Regions from separate parts of the Homo sapiens genome. Here region 2 is linked to region 1. The links are contacts of gene promoters, found by promoter capture Hi-C in blood cells and fetal thymus (Javierre and others, 2016). All regions are on one chromosome and are shown on one strand. The core of a region is centred on a gene start or on the middle of the fragment in contact, and the rest is flanking DNA. Distances in the headings are between cores, read along the strand shown. Region 1 holds the start of KDM2B (lysine demethylase 2B). Region 2 has its middle 36 kb from the start of KDM2B.

Region 1 (2,854 bases), core at 191-2,690:
TTAGATGAAGCATTCTATTATATATTTTTTGCTTTATTTCACTTAATTCACTTTGCGTCACTCTCCAGCCCATGCAGCCTCCTTTGAACATGTTTATTTCATTATGGGGCAGTAGTGAGGCTGGTAAGTTACTAAAAAAAAAAAAAAAAAAAAAAAAAGCACGTGATGGCCAAGCCAGGCTCCAGTGTGAGCCCTGGCAGCGGCACATACGCGCTATGTGATCCTGGGTGAGTGGCTTTGCTTTTCTTAGTCCTAATTTCCTCCTTTGCAAAATGGGAACGAACAAGACGATTTCCCTTAAAGGGTTCTTGTGAGAAAGACAGGAACAAATAAAATGGTCCATGGTTCTGGACGGACTGAAGGCAGAACCGGCAGCACTCACACGAAGGGCTACTGATTGCACGCAGCAGCCAACGTGGGCGATTTCAGTTTGGAAACAAATTTTGATGTTTCCCAGCCTCATCCCTGCTTAAAAGATTTTTACAGCTAGTGAACATGAATGAAAACAAACTTCAAAGAGTAGCCTTTGAGGATGGGTGGGAAAGACTACAGTCAGATAGGACAGGAAACTTCTAAGGTGAGTGAGGGGGAAGCTGTCTCTTAGGACGGCCAATACGATGCTGATAGTGACATCGTATCTCCTGGTGGGGAAGCCACGTCCTCCCCACAGGTCTGTCTGATAGCCTGGGGACCATATGGGAGCACAGCAATCATTCAGATTCATAATTTCTCTGAGCTTCAGTTTCCCTATCTGCAAAATGACCTGCTCCAAGTATCCCACAGGGTTATGGCAGAAATAAAATGTCAGGCTCAAAGCCTGCTATCTACAATGTCCCTTTATCGTCTCCCTCTTGCCATGTCATTTTATCAGCATCTTTACCCGCAAGATCAGGCCTAGCAGGGCGCCACAGCTGGGGCTGGAGGAATGTTTAGGGCTAGCTTTTCTCAAGCCAAGTCGACCTGACTGTTGCTCATGATGGGAGGACAAGACAACCCAGGACCAGTGCTGGGGTAGTCAAAAACACTAGTAAGTGGACAGGGACCTAATGACACCCATGTATGTACGGAGGGTGCCGATACCTCCGCTAAGAAGCCCTGTAGGGGCTTCATCAAGGGCACTAGAGTTCCCCCCACCTATCCCAGAGCACCATGCACCTTTCCACCGACTTGTCTTCTATAAACTACCAACAAGGGCTTACCCTTCGCTCCTGTGCGGGCTGCGTTAGGAGGCGCCAGATCCAATTCTCTGCGTCTTTCGCTCCTGAGCATCTATCTGCTCCCCTTGCCGAGCGCAAGAACCTTTAAAAAATGTCCAACTTCTGTTTCAGGGCTGGTCGCCTAGTAAAGGAGTCCACAGAGGCGGGCAGAATGAATGAATGAAAGGCAACGTCTTCCGGTCAGCTGCGGACTGCAAAGGCTCTGGTCTGGCTGTATTTCCTGTACGTGTGTGTGTCCACATCTTTGAGTGCCGGGAGTTTAAAAGTTAGGCAGTCCTTATAGGTATGGAAGCCGAGCTAATTTCCTTCTGAGCCCCCCAAATGCCTCCTCCACATGGCGGGTCCGCAAATGGGGGGATCTGCAGAGGATCACCCCCCACGAAAAAGACATGCAGCAGAAAAGCAAAAAAAGAAAACAGTTATATATACAAAATGCTTTGAATTTGAGTCGGCCACACAGGTAATGTTGGGGGAGGGGTGGATGAAAGAAGAGGAAGAGGGGTAGCCCTGGGCAATGAGGGCAGGAACGGAGGTGGGGGGTCGTTTTTGGGGGTGCCAGGCCCCGGGGGCTTTCACGCCAGCATGCTCGGCTTGCATTTCCGCGCCTCCCGCTGAGGCCAGCCGTGCAAATCTGCACCTCCCTCCCCGCCCCCTCCTCCTTCCCTCCCTCCCTGCCCCGCCATCTCCGGGATGCGCCCGCCGCCTGCAACTCGGCCCTCCAAAAGTCAGCTCTGCACACAACTCCCGGGCGGCGGCGGCGCCTGCGTGCAGAGGCGCACTCGTGACCCAACAACAAAACAGCGATGCCACGGCGCTAACGGCGCCCGGTGCCTCCCGGGCTCCCTCCCCGCCCCATACCTCCTCGGGCCGCCGCCCCCACCCCCCCAAGCCCGGGCCGAGAGCCCCCCCAAATAGCCCGGCCGCGGGCTCCGAGCGCGATCGGCAACAATGTTTACGTTCCGGGGATTATGACGTCGACGCCTCCCCCCCCCCACAACTGCTGAAAATGGTTTCCTAGGACTTTGCAAACGGATCTGCCTAAGTGTTGGTGCAAAACTTTGTAGATCTCGGCTCTGGCTTGCTTTATTTATTTATTTTTTGGTTTGTTTTCTTTGGTCTTCCCTCCTTCCCCCCTCGGCCAAAATGCAGGGGGCAGGAGTGTTGACAATTAATTGGTGAACTCTCCTAAAAAAATGGAGGCAGAGAAAGACTCTGGAAGAAGATTGGTGTGTAGCTTTTTTTTTTTTTTTTTTTTTCCAAATCTGTATCTGGCATATGATAGATCTTTTTTTTTTTTTTTTTGGTTGTTTCTCGCTGCCTTTTCTTTCCTTTTCTGTATTTTGCAAGAGGACCGGGAAAAAAATATAATAAATTGCATGCAAAAGGAAGCAAGCTGCTTACTCCTCCAGCCCCTTGTGAGGCTTAGAGTCTCAGACACTTAAGTGGGGAGGTGGTATCGGGGAAAGGCGTGGAGGGGGGCTGAGCGGGCTCGGGGTTCGCCCGGAATCTGGGGGGCTGAGGGGCCGGGCGCTGGGCGGTGGAGGGAGGAGGCAGGGGGATGCGGGGAGTGGTGGGGGAGTCTCCTTAGGAAGTGAGTGTGCGCGCGCGCTTGTGGGGAGATGAGGCAGCTGCTGGTG
Region 2 (3,170 bases), core at 290-2,789, 36 kb before region 1:
GAGTAAGACTCCGTCTCAAAAGTAAATAAATTGGCCGGGCGCAGTGGCTCATGCCTGTAATCCCAGCACTTTGGGAGGCCGAGGCGGGCCGATCACAAGGTCAGGAGATCGAGACCATCCTGGCTAACACGGTGAAACCTCATCTCTACTAAAAATACAAAAAATTAGCCAGGCGTGGTGGCAGGCGCCTGTAGTCCCAGCTACTCTGGAGGCTGAGGCAGGAGAATGGCATGAACCCGGGAGGCAGAGCTTGTAGTGAGCTGAGATCGCGCCATTGCACTCTAGCCTGGGTGACAGAGTGAGACTCCATCTCAAAAAAAAAAAAAAAAGTAAATAAATTAATAAATAAATAAATAAAAATAAAATAAGTCTTGGGGAAAAAAAACCCCATAAATTCCTCAAAATTAAAAAAAAAAAAGTCTCGGCCGGGCATGGTGGTTCACGCCTGTAATCCCAGCACTTTGGGAGGCCGAGGCGGGCGGATCACGAGGTTAGGAGTTTGAGACCAGCCTGGTCAACGCAGTGAAATCCTGTCTCTACTAAACATACAAAAATTAGCCGGATGTGGTGGCACGCACCTGTAGTCCCAGCTACTCGGGAGGCTGAGGCAGGAGAATTGCTTGAACCTGGGAGGTGGAGGTTGCAGTGAGCCGAGACGGGGCCACTACACTTCAGCCTGGGTGACAGAGCAAGACCCTGTCTCAAAAAAAAAAGTCTCTTTTTTAAGACAGAGTCTCTCTCTATTGCCCAGGCTGGAGTGCAATGGCACGTTCTGGGCTCACTGCAACCTCGGCTCCCGGGTTCAAGCGATTCTCCTGCTTCAGCCTCCCGAGTAGCTAGGATTACAGGTGCCTGCTGCCACATCCAGCTAATTTTTGTATTTTTAGTAGAAACAGGGATTCGCCGTGTTGGCCAGGCTGGTCTGGAACTCCTGACCTCAGGTTATTCACCCACCTCAGCCTCCCAAAGTGCTGAGATTACAGACATGAGTCACCACGCCCGGCCTCAAAATAAGTCTTAAAGTCAGGTAGAGGTAAGACCTTCAACTTGTTCCCTCCCTCCCTTCCTCCCTTCCTTCCTTCCTTCTTTTTTTTTCACAGGGGTCTTGGTCTCTTGCCCAGACTGGAGTGCAGTGGCACAATCTCAGCCCACTATAACCTCTGCCTCCCGGGTGCAAGTGATCCTCTCAGCTCAGCCTCCCAAGTAGCTAGGGCTACAGGCCTGCATCACCACATCTGGCTAATTTTTGTGTTTTTTTTTTTTTTTTTTTTTTTGTAGAGACAGGGGGTCTTGCCACGTTGCCCAGGCTGGTCTTGAACTCCTGGGCTCAAGCGATCCGCTTGCCTCAGCCTCCCAAAGTGCTGGGATTAAAGGCTAGAGCCACTGTGACCAGCTTCTTTTTTGTTGTTGTTGTTTTGAGATGAAGTTTCATTCTGTTGCCTAGACTGGAGTCCAGAGGCACGATTATGGCTCACTGCAGCCTTGACCTCCTGGGTTCAAGTGACCCTCCCACCTCAGCCTGCCAAGTAGCTGAGACTACATGCACACACCACCACACCTGGCTAATTTTTTATTATTTATAAAGATGGGATCTAATATGTTGCCTAGGCCAGTCTCAAAACTCCTGGACACAAGCGATCCTCCTGCCATGGCCTCCCAAAATGCTGGGATTACAGGCGTGAGCTAACCTACCCAGCCTAGTTCTCTTTTTCTTTTCTTTTCTTTCTTTCTTTTTTTTTTTTTTTTTTTGAGACGGAGTTTTGCTCTTGTTGCCCAGGCTGGAGCGCAATGGCATGATCTCAGCTCACTGCAACCTCCACCTCCTGGATTCAAGTGATTCTCCTGCCTCAGCCTCCCGAGTAGCTGGGATTACAGGCATGCACCACCACGCCCGGGTAATTTTTACATTTTTAGTAGAGACGAGGTTTCTACATGTTGGTCAGGCTGGTCTTGAACTCGTGACCTCAGGTGATCCACCCACCTCAGCCTCCCAAAGTGCTGGATTACAGGCATGAGCCACCACGCCTAGTCTAGTTCTCCTTTTTCAAAACTGAATTTGCTGTACAGAATGTTGGGGTAAATTTTGTCAATACACATATGCCTTGGAGAATCACTATATCCCTTAACTTGGTGGGTGTCAGCAGGATCATTTTCCTGGACGGTCTGACATCCTCTATTAGCAAAGCAGGCCACACTGCAGAGATCAGACACATGAGATCAGGTTGGACTCTTAAAGGTTAAACTGTGTCCCCCCAAAAAAGACATTGCAGTCCTAAACCTCAGTACCTCAGAATGTGACCTCATTTGGGGCTGGGCGCAGTGGCTCACGCCTGTAATTTCAACACCTTGGGAGACTGAGGCAGGCGGATCACCTGAGGTCAGGAGTTCAAGACCAGCCTGGCAAACATGGTGAAACCCCATCTCTACTGAAAATACAAAAAGTAGCCAGGAGGTGGAGGTTGCAGTGAGCCAAGATTGCGCCATTGCACTGCAGCCCGGCAGACAAGAGTGAAACTCCACCTCAAAAAGAAGAATGTGGCCGGCTGGGCACGATGGCTCACGCCTGTAATCCCAGCACTTTGGGAGGCCGAGGCAGGCGGATCACGAGGTCAGGAGATCGAGACCATCCTGGCTAACACGGTGAAACCCCCGTCTCTAATGAAAAAAATACAAAAAATTAGCCAGGCATGGTGGCAGGTGCTTGTAGTCCCAGCTACTCGGGAGGCTGAGGCAGGAGAATGGCGTGAACCTGGAAGGCAGAACTTGCAGTGAGCCGAGATCACGCCACTGCACTCCAGCCTGGGTGACAGAGCGAGACTCCGTCTCAAAAAAAAACAAAAGAAGAAGACTGTGGCCAGGCACGGTGGCTCACATCTGTAATCCCAGCACTTTGGGAGGCCGAGGAGGGTGGATCAGGAGGTCAGGAGTTGGAGACCAGCCTGGCCAACATGGTGAAACCCGATCTCTACTAAAAATACAAAAATTAGCTGGGTGTGAAGGCAAGCGACTGTTGTAATCCTAGCTACTTGGGAGGCTGAGGCAGGAGAATCTCTTGACACTGGAAGGCAGAGGTTGCAGTCAGCTGAGATTGTGCCATTGCACTCCAGCCTGGGCGAAAGAGTGAAACTCTCTAAAAAAAAAAAAAAAAACCACAAACAAAAAAAAACGAA

The links. The method cuts DNA at HindIII sites, captures the fragments that hold promoters and counts their contacts. A CHiCAGO score of 5 or more calls a contact.
Region 2: a fragment that was not itself captured here is called in contact with the fragment with the promoter of KDM2B in region 1 in 2 of 17 cell types (naive B cells and total B cells); the score reaches 5.4 in naive B cells.

The regions. Positions count from the first base shown.
Region 1 is chr12:121,579,609-121,582,462 of GRCh38, reverse strand. KDM2B (lysine demethylase 2B) reads left to right here and starts at 1,440. Exons shown (of 23, transcript NM_032590.5): 1 at 1,440-1,677. The coding sequence starts at 1,552. It overlaps KDM2B-DT (KDM2B divergent transcript), which reads right to left and starts at 1,952. Exons shown (of 4, transcript NR_183427.1): 1 at 1,200-1,952. RefSeq lists enhancers at 1-279, 1,215-2,150 and silencers at 1,720-1,769, 1,850-2,159. The HindIII fragment of the contact is 12,326 bases long and covers 1-2,854 here.
Region 2 is chr12:121,615,262-121,618,431 of GRCh38, reverse strand. No RefSeq gene overlaps it. Among named protein-coding and RNA genes, the nearest start is that of KDM2B, 36 kb to the right of the region's middle. The HindIII fragment of the contact is 3,928 bases long and covers 1-3,170 here.